5 separate regions of the Homo sapiens genome follow, and regions 1, 2, 3 and 4 are each linked to region 5. The links are contacts of gene promoters, found by promoter capture Hi-C in human tissues and cell types (Jung and others, 2019). All regions are on one chromosome and are shown on one strand. Each heading gives the region's core, a stretch centred on a gene start or on the middle of the fragment in contact. The rest is flanking DNA. Distances are from core to core; before and after follow the strand shown.

Region 1 (4,463 bases), core at 84-2,583, 360 kb before region 5:
TACTGGGATTACAGGCATAAGTCACTGTGCCCGGCCGAGATTTTATATCTCTATCTCTGTCTGTCTGTCTGTCTGTCTGTCTATCTATCTATCTATCTATCGTTTTAGTCTTCGCTTTTTGGAAACAAAAATGGGCTATAAGACACGATGGATGGCATTGAATAGGCAGTTTTTAGAGGAACCTAATTGGTTCATAGCATACAGGATAGGCTTTTTCCTTGGGTCTTTGTAGGAATATTGGTCATTAATAGCTATTTTTCCATGCAGAATATTTCTAGTTTTGCAAGAATCTGAAGCTGTGGTAGATTCAGATAATTTTGAAATGTGAAGCTGATTCTCTTGCTTGGCAACTTGATTTGTTTGGGGGAATGTGGTTGACGCATGTGCCTTTTTTTTTTTTTTTTTTTTGGTGAGACCTGTTGACAGAAATTCAATCTTGATTAAGGGACGCAGGAAGGCATCCAGTTCCCACCATGCCTGGGGCTCTCTCATTTAAACAGCTGCCTTTGGCTCTGGCCTGTTCCATTTCCCACTAGGCCCTGTGGACTTTAATTTTGGAAGATTTCACATCCTCATATTTATTATTTCTGGGGGAGGTAGTGTCGTGAAACCGAAATTACCCAGTAGTTAGCTTTTCGTTTTCTTGATGTACTTGTCCTATCAGCCTTAATTGAAGAGAGTCAGACTTCTCAATGGATATGTATTTATTTATTCTCTTTTTCCAGGGAGAGGGGATGGTCTCCTGAGTTGGCCATTCTAGACCAAAATATAGCTTAAAAGAAGCTTTTTTAAAGAACAGGTCATGTTAGGAAAATAATATTTTGTTTTTAAAATTTCACCTAAAGATTAAGTGTACTTAGGTTTGCACCCCTCGCCGTTTGTTCCCCACTAATCAAATGTAGTCTTAGACCTCAGAGGACAGCCTTTCTTCTGCTGCTTGAACCCTCTTCATAGTCTCTTTACTCTAGAATATCACTGAGGTTTTCACTAACCACCATCTTATATAGAGGAAAAACTTCATATGGAAAAGTATACTTAAAAAAAGAGGAATCAATGGATTTTTTAAAAAATTTATGGGAAGATTCAGATCAGAGCTTTCCAAATATATTTATAACAGGATTTGTAATTTGCTAAAGTTTTCTTTATGAGCATATCAGGGATGCTTAGTTTTCATAAAGGGCAGGATTTGTCTTTGTTGAACAGGATCTTATGATTTGATTACCTACCTCCTTTTTGAAGCAATGTTTATAGGAAAACTTGTGCATTAGAGAGACCCCAGATTTTGGAATCCTGCAGACTTGTTCTTTTAAAACTCAACACTGCTATGTATTAGTTTGGTGATCTTGGAATAGTGTAACTTCTCTGAGCTTGTTTCCTTGTTTATAAAATGGTGATGGTAGCATTTATTTATAAAGACATCTATCTATTGTCTATATTGTTAATGCAGTTTAAACGAGATGATTTATGTGAAGTGTCTGGTAAGGTGCCTGGCCTACAGTAGACAGTATTTGGAAGTTATTATCTCTTGCTCCATGACATTTGTTATTTATCTATTTAAATGTGAATTTTTTTTTTTTTTTTTGAGACAGAGTCTTGCTTTGTTGCCCAGGCTGGAGTGCAGTGGCGCGATCTCGGCTCACTGCAACCTCCGCCTCCTGGGTTCACGCCATTCTCCTGCCTCAGCCTCCCGAGTAGCTGGGACTACAGGCATCCACCACCACGCCTGGCTAATTTTTTTGTATTTTTAGTAGAGACGGGGTTTCACTGTGTTAGCCAGGATGGTCTCAATCTCTTGACCTCATGATCCACCCGCCTCGGCCTCCCAAAGTGCTGGGATTACAGGCGTGAGCCACCGCGCCCAGCTTAAATGTCTATTTTTAAATAAATAGGCAGTGGATAAGAACACCACCTTCGGTGTCTATTCCATTTGGAATCCTGGCTTTACTGCTTCTTAGCTGCATGACTGTGAATAAGTAGTAAATCTCTCTGTGCCTCAAGTCCCTCAGTATAGAATGAAGATAATAACAGTACCTACTTTATAGGATTATTGTGAGGATTTAGTGAGTTAATACATGTAAGACACTGTCAACAGTGTCTGGCATGTCATAAGTGCTCATTAAGTAATAGCTGTTGGCCGGGCACGGTGGCTTACGCTAGTAATCCCAGCAGTTTGGGAGGCTGAGGCGGGTGGATCACTTGAGGTCAGGAGTTCAAGACCAGCCTGGCCAACATGGTGAAACCCCGTCTACTAAAAATACAAAAAATTAGTTGGGCATGGTGGCAGGTGCCTGTAATCCCAGCTACTCAGGAGGCTGAGGCAGGAGAATCACATGAACCCGTGAGCCAGAGGTTGCAGTGAGCCAAGATTGTGCCACTGCATTCCAGCCTGGGCGACAAGAGTGAAACTCTGTCTCAAAAAAAAAGAAAAAAGTTAATAGCTGTTTTTATTTTTAACTTTTTCAAATTTATATACCCTTTTATTAAGTCAATGCCCCAGGAATCATTTTTAGTTCTATATAGAAATCTTATTATTTGTTTATTTTTAATTTTTTAAATTAATTATTATTATATTTTTGAGATGGAGTCTTACTCTGTTGCCAGGCTGGAGTGCAGTGGCACGATCTTGGCTCACTGGAACCTCCTCCTCCCGGGTTCAAGCTATTCTCCTGCCTCTGCCTCCCGAGTAGCTGGGACTACAGGCGCATGCCACGATGCCCAGCTAATTTTGTGTTTTTAGTAGAGACAGGGTTTCACCATGTTGGCCAGGATGGTCTCGATTTCTTTTTTTTTTTTGAGACGGAGTTTCGCTCTTGTTGCCCCGGCTGGAGTGCGATGGTGCGATCTTGGCTCACTGCAACCTCCACCCCCCAGGTTCAAGCAATTCTCCTGCCTCAGTCTCCCAAGTAGCTGGGATTACAGGCATGCACCACCACACCTGGCTAATTTTATATTTTTAGTAGAGACAGGGTTTCTCCATTTTGAGGCTGGTCTCGAACTCCTGACCTCAGGCGATCCGCCCGCCTTGGCCTCCCAAAGTGCTGGGATTACAGGTGTGAGCCACCGTGCCCGGCTATTTATTTATTTATTTATTTATTTATTTATTTATTTATTTATGAGACGGAGTCTCACACTGGAGTGCAGTGGCATGATCTCGGCTCACTGCAACCTCTGCCTCCTGCATTCAAGCGATTCTCCTGCCTCAGCCTCCCGAGTAGCTGGGATTACAGGCATGTGCCACCAAACTCAGCTAATTTTTGTATTTTTAGTAGAAAGATGGGGTTTCACCATGTTGGCCAGGTTGGTAGTTCTATATAGAAATATTAGAAAGAGAATATGTAACATTTGGGTAAGTTAATAGTCAATTTATAGGCCACGTAAATGGGAAGGATTATTTCCTTAAATCAAGAGATTAGACAATCATTGCTTGTCATGAATATTTAATAAAAATTTGAGAAAGCTCAGTTTCTTTTGGGCTGCAAACATAGATCTAGGGAAATAAATACTGCTTAACTATTTTGTTGTTGTTGTTGTTGTTGTCTTTTAAGAGACAGAGTCTCACTCTGTTGCCCACGTTAGAGTGCAGTGGTGCAATCGTGGGTCACTGTGGCCTCAAACTCCTGGACTCAAATGATCCTCCCACCTCAGCCTCCTGATTAGCTGGGACTACAGGCACACACCACCATGCCCAGCTACTTAGGAGGGGTTGAGGAGGGAGGATCCTTTGGGCCCAGGAGTTCGAGTCTAGCCTGAGCAACAGGCTAGATTCTTTAAAAAACAGAGATGAAAAAGAAAGAAAAAAAGGATGTGAAGGGTTAAATTTGAACACTTTCCAGGTAGTTTTCAGCATCATGCTTTGGTGGAATCATGGTTTTGAGGCTAAGTGGGGTTGCTGCATGTTACATTCCTGCCTCTTCCTTCCCCCAGCTTTAGTCGTCTTCATTACATTCATGCCTGGGAAGCCTTCCCAGTGACCTGAGTTAGGCATTAAGATCATGGGAATCCAAGATTTTCCCATGTCTTCTAGCATATTTGTTCACAAGAAAAGGAAAATTTCCTCCTTGCAGCAAGGGGTTTTTAACCACTGTCAGTACCATGGAATCTTTCACTAAAAATCCTTTGAATAGAAATGTGGTCAAGGAGAGGAAAGGTATCAGCAGTGATAATACCTTACAATAGTGTATTTCATAGCACTTGAAGTAGCTTCTTATTTGATTATGGTAAGAAGGTAGGCAGAGAATTAGTGACTTGCCTATTGTCATATACATGTGGTAAATGCCAGAGAGGGCATTCTGGACTTCTGTTAGTTGGAATTGCTTTTGACTACAGGTGACAGAAAATGTGGCTATAATGGTTTATACAATAATTATTATTATTTTCTGAGATGAAGTCTCACTCTTGTCACCCAGGCTGGAGTGCAATGGCGCAATCTCAGCTCACTGCAACCTTCGCCTCCTGGGTTCAAG
Region 2 (4,396 bases), core at 1,176-3,675, 300 kb before region 5:
CCGCGCCCGGCCTAAGTTAAATCTTTTTTAGAAATCTTTCCTTGACCTCTGACCTCCTCAGTAAAGATGGTCACTTCCTTCTTTGTGACTCCCAAATGTTTCTCTTTTTTTGAGACGGAGTTTCACTCTGTCGCCCAGGCTGGAGTGCAGTGGCGTGATCTTGGCTCACTGCAAGCTCCGCCACTCAGGTTCACGCCATTCTCCTGCCTCAGCCTCCCGAGTAGCTGGGACTACAGGTGCCCGTGACCACACCCAGCTAATTTTTTGTGTTTTTAGTAGAGATGGGGTTTCACTGTGTTAGCCAGGATGGTCTCGATCTCCTGACTTCGTGATCCGTCCGCCTCGGCCTCCTAAAGTGCTGGGATTACAGGCATGAGCCACCGCGCCTGGCTGTGACTCGTAAATGTTTCTTGTATACATCTCGAGTAGAGCAGTTATACTATATCTGAGTTACTTGAACTTGTTCACAAATTAATAGAGATACAGATATGTAAGTTCCTTGAAGACAAGAATTGCCATAGCCATCTCTTGTTTATTGTGGCTGGCACAGAATTGGCTTAGGTCCATGTTAAACAATATATTTTCTTTTAGAATTCACATCATTTTTGAGTATCAACTCTATCATTCATTGCGTGTGCTAGGAGATACAAAAGCATCTGGATTCTGCCCAGGCTAGTCCTAGGTACCATATATGACCTGAAACTTATTTTATATTCATTTTTTTATTCAGTGAGCATATATGAATCTCTTATGTACAAGTCATTGTAGTCCCAGCATTAATTGACAAAGCAAGATGGTGTTTCTCACAGTATGATTTGCAGATCCTGGTCCTCCTGAACCCCCATAAACTGATGCGTGAAGAGTGGAGAATGAAGGGGTGTCCTGGAACCAATTCTCCACGGATACTGAGGGATGACTGTGTATACCTTAGCACTGTTCTAGTCTCTGGGAATACGTCAATGAACAAAAAAAAAGACCTTGCCTTCATGGAGCTAACATTTTAGTAGGAGAGAGAGACAGTAAGCAAATAATTTAAGCTCTTGTGTAAGGTGACAGACGTGCTGACTGCTATGTGAATAGATGGGTTGGGAGTCGGGGGCATGTGAAATTGTAATTGGGAAGGCGAGGAGGTTCTCGGCTGTTGTGCAGGTGAGAGCTGACAGTGACTTGGGTTAGGGTGGTAGCAGTGGCAGAGAGGAGAAGTGGTTGGGTTCTGAATGTGTTTTAAAGTTGTAACTAACAAGACTTCCTAACAGATTGGATTTGGAGAGTGAAAGAAAGGTGGGCACCTTTCTTTCTTATAGAGGGCACCCAGGTGTCAGCCCCAAACAGAGACAGGGTCCATCCCTTGTACTGTGAGAAATCCAGTTCTACCCTAGTCCTTTTATTTCTTGTGGGTTCACAGCAGCATTCATTTTTTTTCTGATTTCCTCTTGTTTTTTTCCACTTCTGCTTATCTCTTGATCTCTGTGTCTGTTCTTTGTAGATTTTCTCTCTACTGGTATCAGCATTTCTCCTCTATCACTATCATTCATGTATTTCCATCTGGAATCATTTTTTCATATACCTTGTCTGGTTTTGTTCGTTGTTGTTTCAGGCAGGGGAATAAATCCGGCCCTCAGATTGAGGGTTTTGGGAGTGTTACTGAGAATTATGGATGTGAGGGATCCTTCTGCCCCATTTGCTCCATTCTGGATAATCCCCTGTGCAAACTCATGTCAGTGGTAATAAGTGACAGTCTGTTAGAGGCCACAAAGAGGAGTTACATTACTTTAGAGAAAGTAGCTTAACACTGAGATGTCAACATTCAGTGCCTCTTGCTTCCCAAAATTTCTCAGTTTCCCAGGGGCAATCTTTTCCTCCACCACATGGTCTCTTGCCTAGTACTGAGCCCTCTTTTTCTGGACCACCGCACATCACCTTCATTTTTCTAGCACACTCTCCCATTTTTCCCAGAAACTCAAACTTTCTGCTTGCATTTTACAGAAAAATTATTTTATTCATCCCTTCAGGCCATGTGCTAATAGGAGCATCATCTTTCCACACTCAGGTCACTCAGGAATTTTCCTAAATAAAGAACATATCCTGAGATAAGAATTTACTGAATTTTAAGAATTTAGCTGCTACTTTTTGCTCGCCTTTTTTTTTTTTTTTTTTTGGGAGATCTCGCTCTGTCACCCAGGCTGGACTGCAGTGGCACTGTCTTGGCTCACTGCAACCTCTGCCTCCAAGCGATTCTCCTGCCTCAGCCTCCTGAGTAGCTGGGATTACAGGCACATGCCACCACACCAAGCTAATTTTTGTATTTTTAGTAGAGACGGGATTTCGCCATTTTGTCCAGGCTGGTCTCGAGCTCCTGACCTCAAGGGATCTGCCCACCTCAGCCTCCCAAAGTGCTGGGATTACAAGTGTGAGCCACCATGCCTGGCCTTTGCTTGGCTATTTTGCAAAGCTCCTAGCACATACACACATGCAGATTGTCAGAATTCCTGGGAATTCTGGGAAATCTGGGAAGCATGCTGCTTTGTTTTCAGTGCATTTTTAACTTGGCCATGATTTCCTATTGCTGATATTTTTTTTTTTTTGAAACGGGGTTTTGCTGTTGTCACCCAGGCTGGAGTGCAGTGGCGTGTTGTCAGCTCACTGCAACCTCTGCCTTGCAGGTTCAAGCAATTCTGCCTCAGCCTCCCGAGTAGCTGGGATTACAGGCATGCACCTGGCTAATTTTGTATTTTTAGTAGAGAGGGGGTTTCTCCATGTTGGTCAGGCTGGTCTTGAACTCCCGATCTCAGGTGATCTGCCTGACTCGGCCTCCCAAAGTGCTGGGATTACAGGCGTGAGCCACAACGCCCAGCGATATTCTTGTACTAATTAATATATGTATAAGATTACTGCTCACTCTTAGCTTTGGTTGATTGTTTTGTCCTGTGTAATTGCTTGGTTACCATTTTGATTGTTTTATTCCTTACCAGGTCTTTTTTCTAGAGTCTTGTCCCTGGGAAGTGGAGCCAGCATGGTAGACAGAACAAAGTTGCAGTTGCTCCAGCATTTAACAGAGATGAGACCTGGACACGAATAATCGTAACACAAGATGGGATGTGATTCAGTAATGTGAGACAGAGTGCTGTGGGAGTTTAGGGATTGTTTTTGAAAGTGAGGTTGCAGTTTGTAAAGGTTTTTTTTTTTTTTTTTAAAGTAAAATTTGCAAAAGTAGTACTGCCTTTTGGAAACAAGTAAAATGCTACTAACTGTATGAAATAAAACACGAAAGTCTCCTTCCTTCCCCTACTCCCACGTCCCAGTGTAACCCATGGTTCGCAATAGGATTCTTCCAGAATGTTTTCTCTGAGCACACACATAGAGCATTTTTTTTAAAAGAAATAAGATAGTAGTAGCATTATGCATTTTTAAAAATTTTAATTTGTTCTTTAAAAGGTTATACATTCACATAGTTCTGAATTGAAAAGATACAAACGTAGAGTCTTCCTCCTGCCTTTTCTTCCCAACTGCTCAGCTCCCCTCCCCAGAGATAGTGCTGCCAGTTTCTTAAGTTCCCTTGCAGAGACTGTTTCTTCCTATACATACTCCTACCTACCCTCCTTCTCTTATTTTTTTACACAAATAGCATCATACTTTACACTCTGTACCTTGGTTTTTTCATACATGTTGTGCATTTTAAAGATGTAGTTCAGGTGCCACCTCAGGCATGTCCTGGCTTCCTTCCTGACAAGTATGAAGCCTCTTATGACAATCTAGTGACATGGAGGCAGACCTGCATGATGTCCTGGGTTTGTGACCTGAGGTCCCAAGGACTAGAGGGCAAGGTAGCAGCACCTGGTCCTCATCTCCTCCTGGCTTAATTGAGCTTTGGGGGCTTGCGTATTGTCTTGAGTGTTTGGTTGAACCTGTATATCCTGTTGGATCAATCTTGATATTGCTTCCTTTTCATTTCTCTCGATGAAGGCCGTCTTACTGAATCTTGTCTGCTGGGGAAGTTCCTCATTGCTGAGAGCAGCAGTTAAAAAAGCTGTTAGCCACGTGGCTGGGCTCCTATTTCTGCAGAGGCAGGCTGAGTTACAGCTTGGTGGTGTGGATCCAGGTAGGAATTGGTCAACATTCTGAATCCTGAGCTGCCATCTGCCTCGTAGCCTGCTGGGATGCTCAGTTTAGACAACATATAAAGTTTCCTGGATACGGGACAAACCCAGGCCTATGGAAAGAGCAGGAAGGTTAAAGTGTGTGGTACTTTGGGCAATGACGAAGGCGTAACCAGGGAGCTGACATGTTTGCTCCAAAGCCAAGAATTCCAGGACAATTTGTTATCCAGCTGAAGCCAGTGTAGTTGCTACAAAAAAGCCTGGGGACAAAAGCATGCTTTTTACTTGTTTCCCTGTCT
Region 3 (4,513 bases), core at 151-2,650, 320 kb after region 5:
CAGCTACAGAGCTTCCTCACAGGTAAGGAAGAGGTAGAGCCTAGCCTGGGAGGATGAATGATGACAGGTATAAGGCAAGATCCCTCCTTCTCCTGTAGTGAGCTGTGAACATGTTCAGAGAGTGAAGAATAGAAGTCTGGTCTCCAGCTGTTAGTAGCATTTAACAGGGGGCCGCAGGAAAAGTGAACAGTAGGTTTGAGCAGAGTAAGTTTTTTCTCTTTCTTTACCTTGGCTGAGTGATTTTGTTCATTCTTTTTTTTTTTTTTTTTTTTTTTTTTTGAGATGGAGTCGCGCCTGTCGCTCAGGCTGGAGTGCAGTGGCATGATCTCCGCTTACTGCAACCTCTGCCTCTGGGGTTCAAGCAATTCTCCTGCCTCAGCCTCCCGAGTAGCTGGGATTACAGGCACGTACCACCGTGCCTGGCTAATATTTGTATTTTTAGTAGAGATAGGGTTTTGCCATGTTGGCCAGGCTAGTCTCGAATTCCTGACCTCAAGTGGTCTGTCCACCTCAGCCTCCCAAAGTGCTGGGATTACAGGTGTGAGTCACCATGCCTAGCCTGATTCTGTTCATTCTTGTAATATACACGTGAACATTCAGGGAGAAGTGTGGTTAGTGCAGAGTAGAGAGAACAGGAGATTGGGAGTGAGCAGTTTGAATGATAACCCTGCACTTACTAGCCTTGAGACTTGGGGAAAATTCCTTACCTGTAAAATGGGGATAACAGTACATTTTTGTAGCTTGGAATGATGCTTGGCACAGTGACCAGCACGTAGCTCAGTAACATTAACCAGTGCTCTTGTCAGCATTATTTGACAGATCTGGTTGAAGACGAACTTCATTTTACAAGAGCGTGAGTAGAGATAGTGTCGCCAGGGAATGCTTTTGTGGCTCTGCAGTTGACTTGGGCTCTCTTTTGTTCTCTCTTGGAACGCAGGCGAACAAACAAAAGAAAAAGACTGGGGTGATGCTGCCTCGAGTTGTCCTGACTCCTCTGAAGGTAAACGGGGCCCACGTGGAATCTGCATCAGGTATGTGTAAACTCATGGTTGTGATGCTTTTTCCTCAGGTCCTGGGGACCTGGCCTCCCTCTGTCAGCAGTTTCTGACCTAATAGTGCGATACTAGGAGAGCTGTCGGGCCACAGGCAAGAGCCCTGCCAATGGATGAGGCCTGCCATAGGTTCTAGTGCTGGGCTCTGCTGTGTGCCTTCCTCTTTGTCTCCCAGGGCAGTCGTGAGGATCCAACGGAGGATTTGATTATGCCAGTGCTTTGTAAAAGGTGTAGTGCTATACAAATAAAGATGGCAGTTTGGCACCTGTAAGGTGATATTTTAAAGCCAGACCATGAAGTGGTGGTTTCTCTCAGCCTAAGGCTGGGAGATGGAAGCATCCCAGTATTGCTGGCAGCATCTCAGGGAGAGCTGGGAGAAATGAGCTTGTCTGAGAGCCATGGGCGCGGCTTGGTGATACTTTTGACCAGTGGAATGCTGTGCCTTCAGGGTTCTCGGGCTGCCACGCCGATGGCGAGAGCGGCAGCCCGTCCAGCAGCAGCAGCGGCTCTCTGGCCCTGGGCAGCGCTGCTATTCGTGGCCAGGCCGAGGTCACCCAGGACCCTGCCCCGCTCCTGAGAGGCTTCCGGAAGCCAGCCACAGGTGAGTGGCGTGGCACTTATTTCTCTGCCTGTAAAGGGGGCCCCTGCAGGCCTAGTGAGAAGATGATGTCTTCTATTCCAATTCCTTTACCAGTTTATTTTTACTTCTTGGGTGGCCCTCTATTTTTTGTTTATTTTTACTTTGTAATTTGCTTATTTCATTTGTAGCTCTCTGCTAAACTGTGAGAACTCCTTTCAGGCAGAGATGATGCCATACTGTTTCTCGTATGTCCCTGTAGGCCTAGTCTATGCCTGCCTTGTACTGCATAGTAAGTGTTTGAGTGAGTGAAAACTGCTTCTGAGCTTCTCAGTGAAGAATTCCAACACCCCTTTTCTCTCTTCGGTAGCATGTTGCCACATTTGTTCCCAACATCTGTAGTCTGTATCAGACGCTCCCTTTTTTACAACCTAGTCAGTATGTTGAGTGGAAGCATGTGTTGAATTTTGGGGATGCAAACAAATTCAGTAGTGCTATTATCTATACCTCCCACCCCTCACCCCACCCCACCCCCATTAGGGTTATTTGCAATATTAGTATGCTCTTTGCTATTTCAGGATTTAATTCTTAATGACCCACATGCTGGTTTTTTTTGTAGATGAAACCATTAAGAAGACAAGCTTTTGCTTCTGAGAATTAGAGTAAACCTTTGCCCATGTGAGAACTAGGTTTGCTGTCTTGCTGCTTTTCCAGCTCATCAGCAGTGCTCAATCTAAGGTCTCACAGGTCTCTAGTCCTAGTGAGTTTTTCAGATAAAAGTAACATTTGCTGAGGCTTCTGTGAGAGGTATTAGCATCTCAGTTGGCTTTGAACAGTCCTTAGTACATTTCTGCATGGAGATCATCCCTCTCCAGCCCATTCACAGAAGGCTTCTGCAGATTTTTCTATAGTATACTAACTAGATTTACTTTTAGATAATTCTCATGATTTCTCCAGTTGAGCTTTGTGGAGCCTGTTCTCCAGCTTTGGAGGGAAGCTCAGAACCTGCCCCTTGCCTGATTTTCTGTGGGAAGTGTCCTTTTCAGGCTGTGACACAGCACGGTACAGAGTTTTGTCTGAGGAGATGCAACCCCAAGTGTTCTCCTGGGTTTGATGGCAATGACAGTAACCTGGAAAGAATATACAGGTTAGGATGGACTGGACAATTGAGCAGATTGTGTGCAGATAACTCCTGGGTAGCTTGGGTGCTGTCACCAAAGTTTTCCCATCAGTTGGCATTTGTTTTTTCTTTTAAAAAGCTGAAATCTATACCTTGCTTCAAAAATCATAGGTCAAATGAAGCGCAACAGAGGGGAAGAAATAGATTTTGAGACACCTGGGTCCATTCTTGTCAACACCAACCTCCGTGCCCTGATCAACTCTCGGACCTTCCATGCCTTACCATCACACTTCCAGCAGCAGCTCCTCTTCCTCCTGCCTGAAGTAGACAGACAGGTGCACATGGGCAGCCTCCCCTTTGCCTCTCTCTGGGTGGGCTTCTGTTCTCTTTTAAGTTTATTTATTAGGATTTTTTTCCCCCTTGATCCTTCTAGGTGGGGACGGATGGCCTGTTGCGTCTCAGCAGCAGTGCACTAAATAACGAGTTTTTTACCCATGCGGCTCAGAGCTGGCGGGAGCGCCTGGCTGATGGTATGTAGACTTGGTCATCTCGGACGGCTTGCGACGCACCTGTCGTGTGGTGTTGCATGTCTCCTGGTATTTAAAACCCAAGCTCGCTCTTCTCAAAGGGTTATTTAGTATAAGACAGGCTTTCCTCATTACTAATAAATGTGGTGGGTATTAATATGCCACACAGCTCTGAAGAAATAACAGGGTGTTTAGGTTTAGACTTTCACTATATTGTATGTATGTACTCATTCATCATCTCCTTTTTATCATTAAAACTATAAACACCTATTCCAGTAATCATGGCATGGTCTGGAAGGGTGGAGGAAAGTACACTGTGGAGTTGAGAAGCTCCACCATGCTCTGTCTTTTTAGGCATTGTCACTTGGAGTGATTGTTAGCTTCTATTAATTTAATTTTGTGGGGAAAGTGTTGAGAGGGCTCTAAGAACACCCCTAGGTTTGATGATTTGCTAGCAGGACTCAGCATATAGTTATATGTACAGGGCTGCGGTTTATTACAGCAGAAGAATACAAAGTAAAATCAGCAGATGGAGAGGCACATGGGGTGGGGTCCAGGGGAAACCATGTGTTGGCTTCCAAGGTCCTCTCTCAGTGGTGTCACACAGGACACATTTAATTCCCCCAGTAACAAGTTATGATAACATGTATGAAATGTCTACTAGGGAAACCTGTTAAAGACTCGGTGCCCAGGGTTTTTATCAAGGGCTGATCATGTAGGAAGCCACTGCTTGGCACATACCCAGCTTCCAGATTCCCAAAAGGAAGGCAGGTGTTCAGCATAAGCCGTATTGTTTGCATAAACAATTTAGGCACAGTGAACAACTCATATCAGTTAGGGTGGTTGGGAACCCTCCTGAAATCTAAGTTCCCAGATGTCAGCCAAGGGCTGTTCTTTTAAGTAGGCCTTTCTAAGAGTAAACAATCAGGCCTACCTACTATGTTAACTTTTTATCTACACAGGAAATATGAATGGTTCTTTTGTTTGTTGTTTTGCTTTTTCGATCAAGGAGTTGCTTGGTCTCACTTTAAGGAAGAGTGAATTTCCCTTATAGTAGATGTGTTAGCTCTGTCCCTATAAGAGCATGATGTGAGAGAGCCTTTAGAAGAGACGTGTTGTTTTAAAACTGGGAGATTCAGCTGTCCATAAGACAGACATTAATATCCCGAATGCACTTACTAGAAGAGGTTTATTTCTCCCTAGGTGAATTTACTCATGAGATGCAAGTCAGGATACG
Region 4 (4,180 bases), core at 700-3,199, 290 kb after region 5:
GGATCTTGCTTTTATCCAGTTTGATAGTGTTTGCCTTTTAATTGGAGTTTGTAGACTATTTATGTTTAATGTGATTACTGATTTTTTTTTGAGATGGAGTCTCGCCCTGTCGCCCAGGCTGCAGTGCAGTGGCACGATCTCAGCTCACTCCAACCTCCGTTTCCCGGGTTCAAGTCATTCTCTTGCCTCAGCCTCCCAAGTAGCTGGGACTGCAGGCACCTGACACCACACCCGGCTAATTTTTGTATTTTTAGTAGAGATGGGGTTTCACCATATTGGCCAGGCTGGTCTCAAACTGCTGACTTTGTGATCCGCCCACCTCAGCCTCCCAAAGTGCTGGGATTACAGGTGTGAGCCACTGCGGCTGGATGTTTACTGATTTTTATAGAGTTTAAACAACCATCTTTTCTATTTGTCTGATGTGGTGTTTTTTTCGTTTTTGTTTTTTTAAGATGGACTGTCACTCTGTCGTCTAGGCTGGAGTGCAGTGGTGCAATCTCAACTCACTGTAACCTTTGCCTCCTGGGTTCAAGCAGTTTTCCTGTCTCAGCCTCCCAAGTAGCTGGGATTACAGGTGCGTGCCACCACACCTGGCTATTTTTTTTTTTTTTTTTTTGGTTTGAGACAGAGTCTCGCACTGTCACCTGGGCTGGAGTGCAGTGGCGCGATCTCGGCTCACTGCAATCTCCGCCTCCTGGGTTCAAGCGATACTCCTGCCTCAGCCTCCCAAGTAGCTGGTATTACAGGCGCCCATCACCACACCCAGCTAATGTTTTGTATTTTTAGTAGAGACAGGGTTTCACTATATTGGCCAGGCTGGTCTCAAATTCCTGACCTTGTGATCTGCCCGCCTTGGCCTCCCAAAGTGCTGGGATTACAGGCGTGAGCCACCGTGCCTGGCCTAATTTTTGTATTTTTAGTAGAGATGGGCTTTTGCCATGTTGGCCAAGCAGGTCTCGAATTCCTGACCTCAAGTGATCCCTGCCCTTGGCCTCCCAAAGTGCTGGCATTACAGGAGTGAGCTACGCCATGCCTGGCCTGGATTGAGGATTTTTTAGTGGTTCATTTTTAAGTCCTTTCTTGGCTCATTAGTACTTTGTTATTTTAGTGGCTGCTTTAGTGTTTATTGAGTTCAGCTTGTGAAACTCAGTCTTTAATATTATACCACTTCACCTATATTACAAGAACCTTATAGCAGTACACTTCATTTTCCCTTCAGACTTTGTGCTATGTTTGTCATACACTTCACTTTTACATATGTTGTAAACTCCACAATACATTATTATTTTTCATTTAAGTAGTCAATTTTTTTAAAACAATTTTTTTTTTTTTGAGACGGAGTCTCACTCGGTTGCCCAGGCTACAGTGCAGTGGTGCAATCTTGGCTTACTGCAGCCTCTGCCTCCTGGGTTCAAGTGATTCTTATGCCTCAGCCTCCTGAGTAGCTGGGATTACAGGTGCGCCCCATCATGCCTGGCTGATTTTTGTATTATTAGTAGAGATGGGGTTTTGCCACGTTGGCCCAGCAGGTCTCGAACTCCTGAGCTCCAGTGATCCGCCTGTCTTGGCCTCCCAAAGTGCTGGGATTACAGGCATGAGCCACCATGCCTGGCCTAAAAAGATTTTAAAAGTAAGAAAAAATGTCTTTTACTTTATATGTTTTCCATTTCTGGTGTTCTTTATTGCCTATGAGCGGTTCCAGATTCTCATCTGCCAGATTTTCTTCAGTTTTTTCTCGTCAGTTCAGATTTTCTTTCTGCCAGAGGACTTCCTTTAATGTGTTTCTTGTAGTGTAGGTCTGCTGGTGATATCTTTAAGCTTTGGTGTGTTTGAAAAAGTACTTCCTCTTGTTTTTAGAAAGATATATTCCTTTGATACAGAATTCTAGGTTGACAGGTTTTTTTCATTGTGTACTTTAAAGATGTTGCTCCACTGTCTCTAGCTTGCATTATTTCTCCTGTAAAATCTGTTGTTATTTTAATCTTTGTTCTTCAGCGAGCAAATTTATCTTTTTTGCCTTTTTTGGTTAATTTTTAAGATTTTCTTTTTATCACTGCTTTTTCAGCAATGTGTTTATTATATACTTTGTTGTAGTTTGCGTCATATTTCTTGTGTTTGAATTCTCTTGAGCTTCATGGATGAAATTTACGTATTCAGCTACTATTTCTTGAAATATTTTTCTTTTGTACTTCCCCACCGCATCTGGAGTCTGTAATTACATGTATATTTGGCTGCTTGAAGTAGTCATACAACTCACTGATGCACTGTTATGTTTTTTAGTCATTTGATTCTCTTTGTTTTGGGTAGTTTCTACTGATCTTCATTTCACTAGTCTTTATCTTTCCCATGTTAAATCTGTTACTCTTATCCAGAATTATACCTTTTATCCTTAAAAATTCAGTTTTTTTCTTTTTTTTGAGACGGAGTCTCATTCTGTCACCCAGGCTGAAGTGCAGTGGCATGATCTTGGCTCGCTGCAACCTCCGCTTCCCAGGTTCAAGCGATTATCCTGCCTCAGCCTCCCAAGTAGCTGTGATTACAGGCATGCATCACCATGTCTGGCTAGTTTTTGTATTTTTAGTAGAGACAGAGCTTCACCATGTTTGCCAGGCTGGTCTCAAACCCCTGACTTCAGGTGATCCACCTGCCTCAGCCTCCTAGAGTGCTGGGATTACAGGAATGAGCGACCACACCTGGTTTGTTTCTTAAAAAACATCTTATATTTCTCTGCTTAACGTGCTCAATGTTGAACATGTGAAATATAATAACTTTTCATAATCTCTTCTGATTCTGTCTCTATATCATCTTTGGGTCTGTTTTTATGTATTCTATTTTTCTTGTCATTATGGGTCAGATTTCCCAGTTCTTTGCAATCCTAATAAATTCTGTTTAGATGAAAGACATTGTGAATTTCACTTTGGGTTGTGGATATTTTTGTATTCATGTTGGTATTTTTGAGATTTGTTCTGGAGTGCAGATGAGTTAGCTGGAAACTAATTCTTTTGAGGCTTGCTTTTTAGCTTTGTTAGGTGGGGCGTATCCTTTCTGTGTTTATTTTTGTAAGGGTATACAGATATACATGTTTTCTTATTTCCCTCTTTATTTATTCTTATTTAATCTGTAACAATCTTTTTCCTTATATTCGTAACATTCTTAGTTAGGGAGTAATTACCTCTTCCCTAACTGTTGCATTAGCTTCTTAATTGGCACTCTGGTTCCCAGACTTTTTCTGTCTCTAATGCAGTGTACAGACTACTGTCAGAATAATTCTAAAGCACAATTCTGATATTGTCACTGTATTGCTTTTCAGTGCCTACAGCAGTAGGATTCACTTAAAAAATTATTCCCCTAATAGTAATATAAAAAATTTTTTTGAGCTCAAACTCTCATTCTCTCTCAGTATACATATTTGTTTATACATGAGGTCACATACTGCTTACTAAGTTAGCATTTTTTATGTGTTCATTTTGAAATAACTCTGAACAGTGGTATCCAATCTTTTGGCTTCCCTGGGCCACATTAGAAGAAGAATTGTCTTGGGCCACACATAAAATACACTAATGATAGCTGAATAGCTAAAAATTAAACATTGCAAAAAAAAAAAACAAACAAAAAAAACTCACTGTGGCTTTTTTTTTTTTTCCCTGTATTTTTCTTTTTCCCGAGATGAAGTCATGCTCTGTTGCTCAGGCTGGAGTGCAGTAGTGTGATCTCGGCTCACTGCAACCTCCGCCTACCAGGTTCAAGCAGTTCTCCTGCCTCAGCCTCCCGAGTAGCTGGGATTAAAGGGGTAAGCCCCCATGCCTGGCCTTTTTTTTTTTTTTTTTGTGGGGTGAGCGACCATGCCTGGCTTTTTTTTTTTTTTTTTTTTTTTTTTTTTTTGGTAGAGATGGGGTTTCATCATGTTGGCCAGTCTGGTCTCGAACTCTTGACCTTGTAATTCACCTGCCTTGGCCTCCTAAGGTGTTGGGATTACAGGTGTGAGCCACCACTCCTGGCCTTTTTTTTTTTTTTTTTTGAGATGGAGTCTCACTTTGTCACCCAGGCTGGAGTGCAGTGGCATGATCTCGGCTCGCTGCAGCCACTGCCTCCCGGGTTCAAGCAGTTCTCCTGCCTCACCCTCCCGAGTAGCTGGGATTACAGGTGTGTGCCACCACTCCCAGCTAGTTTTTTGTATTTT
Region 5 (4,594 bases), core at 660-3,159:
TTCTGGCATATGTCACCAAAAGAGATTGGGATATGAAAGGCCTTTAGGGAAAAATACAAAGCATGAGAAAAAAAATGGAAATACTAAAAAATAATAGGCCATTTATGGAGCTTTGCTCCTTATCAGTTATCTTTCTTCAGGCAGCTAGAAATGGTGGGAAACACTCAGGATCGAAGCTCTAGGAAAACTGGTTCCAAGTCTGGAAACTATGAGACTGCAGCAAATTCCCCCTAGTCTCTCAAGCTTCCTCCTCCTTGGGGTTAATAGCCAATCTGCCAATCTTCAGGATGGTTGTGCAGGTCACAAGAGTTAATGGGTGTGTGTTTCAATGATCTATTACTGAAATGATCTATAATAAACCACCCCACTCTAAAGCTGGGCTTAGCTGGGCAGTTCTTTTGGTCCACATGGTGTTCATGAGGTTATTCATGTAGCTGCATTCAGCTAGTAGCTCAGTGGGGGTTGGAATGTCCAAGATGACTTCAGTTACATATTATAGTGCTTAGCTGTAGTTTCTAGAATGTCTTGAGGAGTTGGCTGGGCCTCCCTCTCTCTCCAGGTGCCTTTCCAGCAGAGTAGCTACACTTCTTTATAACCAAGAAGGTAGAATCAGACGTTTTCAATCCTCTTAAGGCCTAGGCTCAGTACTGGCAGAATCACTTGTAGCACATCCTATTGGTCAAAGCAACCAACATGACCAGCCAGATTCAACAGGAGGTAAAACAGAGTCTATCTCTTGAGGAGAGAAACCGTATGCTCATCATGCAAGGACGGACAGAACTACGTGGCAGCCATCTTTGCAGAAAATCCACCACAGTGGTGCCCATAGGTGGGGATCAGAGTTCAACTGTCCCTTGCCCCCTAGAATTAGATAAAAAGAGTCTAATGAACTGTTAGCATAATGCTAAGTGCTGCAGCACACAAAATGCTCGGCAAGTGCTGATGATTATTATTAATCATTATTATTCTTTTAATAGCTTTTTTAAAACAGTCTAAGATAGCACTGGTACTGTATTCAGTTTAAAGTGATATACATGGGTCAAATGAACTTTGAGTTCTTTCCCAACCTTAATACCATGATTCTTTGAGTCTCTTTTTCACAGATTTGGAAACTGAGGCTTAGGAAGATTGCGTGACTTGTCTGGAGTCACACACTAAGCTAGTGCATGACGTCCACATTCAGAGATATCTCCCTCCACTGAATATGCTGGTTTTCACTCGTTCATTTAAAAAATAATGTATTGGGCATCTACCACAAGCCCAAAGGAGTATACATAAACATATACTGACAATTATTTATTGAATACATCCTATGTAATACTGTGTCACTGAATCCTCATCACAAGCCTATGATGAACCAACCCCCTTCCCATTTCACAGATGGGAATGAGGAAGAGCAAGGTAAAAAACGAACAAACAAAAAAACAGGGTCCACCCTCATGGGGATTACAGTCTACTAAAGAGGATATAGGATAGTCAAACAAATACTTAAAATCAAACAAATACTTAAATATATAATTACAAATTATTCTTGGAGTCGTACTGCTCTTGGAGCCCCAGTGCCCACCCTTTCCCTCAAATCAAGGTCTCAGGTAACCCTGGCAATGGGTCTTCCTGCCAGTAGTAAAGATGGCGCTGAGAGCACGAGCGCACTTTCGCACACCCCCATTACCCACAATGCAGCGGGAATAAGGGAGGCTCAGTTTCTGCCAGGAGCTAATATGGCTTCCTTAGTTACACCGTTCTCTCTCTTCACCTAATCAGCGACCTTACTTTCCCAGACCAGACTGTCGAGCAGGAGCTAAGACTCCTTTTCCCCTCTGCTGACCGCCACTACAGGAGCGGTTGAAGCCAGACGACCACCTTGTGGAGTTAAACTCCGTAACCAGGGAGCACCACTTCCGCTGACGTCATTACGGCGACACGTGGATCCAAGATGGCGACGGCGATGGTGAGTGAAGGAGACTCCGGGAGCGGGAGCTGGAGCGGGGCCCTCCGGGGTATCCCAGGATCTTCCAGCACCCCATGCCTGGCCCTGAGCCACCTCCGGGACCCCTGACTCAGGCCTGAGGGCTACCTCTGACTGGGCTTGTCTTCCCCGAAATCCACCTCCCTGGCCCTGCCCCTGCACTCAGGCTTGTGAAGGCCCCGAGTTTTGGGGGAGGCGCCGTTTCGGAGGAAGACCTCGGCTGCTGCCTTCGCCGGTTCCCATTCTACTTTTGGTCTCCGCCCACTGTGAGCCCCATTTTCCATTTCTCACCTCCCTGTCCTGACCCCTCTGAAGACCCCCTCCCGTTATTCTCATCCTTGCTCCTCCCCGTCACGTCCAGACCCTGCTCTCCCCGCCTCCCCACCATCATAACCAGTCCGCAGATGTGACCTCTCCTCTGACCACCCTCCCAGCCCAAGCGCTGCCTCAGATCCTTTTCAGAGCCCTGTCCTCACTTACACTCATAGCTGTCCCCATCGCGCACCCCCTTGACTGCCGCTACCCCAGAGCTTGCCTTCACCTACCCCACCCCCATCTTTCATCCCTAGAGGCTTCCCTGCCCTTCCTGTCTTCTCTCAGTCAACTCCCTGCCCCTCTCTTAGGGACCTTTTACCCTGTTGGTTCTCAAACTTTACTGTGCATAAGAATCTCGAGGTGTGTAGGGGGAGGCATGCTAAAAATGCAGTTTCCTGAGCAGCCCCACTCCCAGAGATTCTAATTCCATAGGGCTAGGTGATGCCCAGGAATCTGCCCTTTTATAAGCACTCTAGTGATTATATAGTGGAGGTGGTCTGTGAACTACGTTTTGAAAAACACTAATAGCCCCACCTCACTGCTCTCCTTCCCATTCCCCAACATGGCCACACAGCTCGTTAGGGATGAAGGCTCTTTATTATGAAGCTATATGTTGGGATGAAGTCTGTGTGTGGATGAGGGTGGAGGTAAAATAGCCATGCTTGGAAGTTGGGTCAGAGCTTGCGGGCTCCTGGTGCAGAACCTTGGAAGTAAATCTTTGAAGGACTGGCCCTTTTTCTAAAAGTTTAGTTCAAATTCTGCTTGTCAAGAGACCAGAACTAAAATTGAAGTCACTTAGTCCAGAATGATTTCCTGGGTCTTCCTGCATACTGCCTCCTCAGCAGATAATTTCGTCCGGGGAGTGAATGACAAGGAAGACTCAGAGAAAAGGAAATGACATTTGACTTTAGCAAAGGAAGATTCTGGCTTAAATAATTTGGTGTTGGTTTTCTCCAAACAGGGATATATTATTGACTGGTAGCAATTTTCCCTCCTTCTCTTAGCTGACTGAGAACTTACCTTTGTTTAATGAGGGATTCCTTATTTAGAACTTCAGAGGTCAGGTAAAAAGATTTCATGGCCTTACCTGGTTTCTGTGGTTTCAGACTTCAGGCTGAACCACGAGTGGGGCAAATCCTCAAAGTAGTATGTTGAAACCTACATATATGTATATATATTCTGGTACCACATTCAGAACAGAGATAGTGTAAGAACTTAAAAGGAAATCACACCCTCTCTTGCTATAAGGAAAACATTGAGTAAAGTGGTATTTACGGCACTGCACTGGGAAATCCCTGCCTTGTTCAGAGATTTTTAAGAGGTTATAAGCTAGCAATACATATATGTGGTACACATCTATTTAGTCAACAAATATTTGAGTACCAATTCTGTTCCAGGAACTAGGGATGTAGTTGTGAATTACAGGGTCAAGGTCCCTACACTTGTGGAGCCTTTCTGGTTTGAGGAGACAGGCAGTGAACAAGTAAATACGTGAACAAAATAATGTCACCAGTAGATGCTGTGAGGACAGCAAAATGAAGTGATAGTGATTAGGGGTGACTGGGTGACACAACTACTTTGGATTGAGTGGTCAGAAAGAAGTCTTCTCAGAGGAGGTGACTTGAGTTAAAACATAATTAACAAGAAGGAACCAGCCATGCAAAGAATGTTCCAAGCAAAGGAAATGGCAAGTGTAAGGGGCCGATGTGGAAGGGAGCTTGGTGTTTTTGAGGAACACACAGAAGGCTGGAGGGGCCGAAGCATGATGAGGGTTGGGGTAGGAGAGAATGATACAAGATGAAACTGGAGGGAAGCAAGAGCAACTGTTTTGAGAAGCATGCCTGGAAATGGGAAGGACTGCGGTCTACATTTTGTTGTCTGTGGATTGCATTTTGAAATAGTGTTGTATTAGGCTGCTTCCCCTTCCCATCCCCTTCAGGACAGTACTTGAAGGGAGCCAGCTTGTTCTCAGTTGGCACAGAGGCTGTGGAAAGGAGTTTGGATTTTAGTCTAAGCACAGTGGAAGGGACAGTGATTTTTGCCCAGCACAGTGACTCACACCTGTAATCCCAGCACTCTGGGAGACCAAAGCTGGGAGATCGCTTGAGCTCAGGAGTTTGAGACCAGCTTGGACAACATGGCAAACCCCTCTACAAAAAAAATACAAAAAGAAAAAATTAGCTGGGCTTGGTGGTGTGCACCTGTAGTACCAGCTACTTGCGGGGCTGAGGTGGGAGGATCACTTGAACCTCAGTGAGCCCTGATCACTGCACTGCACTCCAGCTTTGGCAACAGAGCGAGACCCTGTCT

What was found. Contacts are between HindIII fragments. The study calls those that stand out against the background at their distance.
Region 1: a contact is called between a fragment that was not itself captured here and the fragment with the promoter of TM9SF4 in region 5, in 1 of the 25 tissues and cell types used here (lymphoblastoid cells).
Region 2: a contact is called between a fragment that was not itself captured here and the fragment with the promoter of TM9SF4 in region 5, in 1 of the 25 tissues and cell types used here (mesenchymal stem cells).
Region 3: a fragment that was not itself captured here is called in contact with the fragment with the promoter of TM9SF4 in region 5 in 2 of the 25 tissues and cell types used here (mesenchymal stem cells and small bowel).
Region 4: a contact is called between a fragment that was not itself captured here and the fragment with the promoter of TM9SF4 in region 5, in 1 of the 25 tissues and cell types used here (lymphoblastoid cells).

The regions. Positions count from the first base shown.
Region 1 is chr20:31,747,382-31,751,844 of GRCh38, forward strand. All of the region lies in intron 2 of TPX2 (TPX2 microtubule nucleation factor), which reads left to right. Among named protein-coding and RNA genes, the nearest start is that of TPX2, 10 kb to the left of the region's middle. The HindIII fragment of the contact is 3,114 bases long and covers 1-2,890 here.
Region 2 is chr20:31,802,617-31,807,012 of GRCh38, forward strand. No RefSeq gene overlaps it. Among named protein-coding and RNA genes, the nearest start is that of MYLK2, 15 kb to the right of the region's middle. The HindIII fragment of the contact is 6,356 bases long and covers 1-4,396 here.
Region 3 is chr20:32,428,401-32,432,913 of GRCh38, forward strand. It overlaps ASXL1 (ASXL transcriptional regulator 1), which reads left to right. Exons shown (of 13, transcript NM_015338.6): 6 at 1-22; 7 at 938-1,031; 8 at 1,501-1,653; 9 at 2,921-3,084; 10 at 3,183-3,279; 11 at 4,480-4,513. Among named protein-coding and RNA genes, the nearest start is that of ASXL1, 72 kb to the left of the region's middle. The HindIII fragment of the contact is 7,689 bases long and covers 1-4,513 here.
Region 4 is chr20:32,393,400-32,397,579 of GRCh38, forward strand. The region is part of intron 4 of ASXL1 (ASXL transcriptional regulator 1); the gene reads left to right. Among named protein-coding and RNA genes, the nearest start is that of ASXL1, 37 kb to the left of the region's middle. The HindIII fragment of the contact is 9,568 bases long and covers 1-4,180 here.
Region 5 is chr20:32,107,805-32,112,398 of GRCh38, forward strand. TM9SF4 (transmembrane 9 superfamily member 4) reads left to right here and starts at 1,910. Exons shown (of 18, transcript NM_014742.4): 1 at 1,910-1,951. The coding sequence starts at 1,937. RefSeq lists enhancers at 1,227-2,426, 1,429-2,173, 1,831-2,010, 2,174-2,916. The HindIII fragment of the contact is 9,910 bases long and covers 1-4,594 here.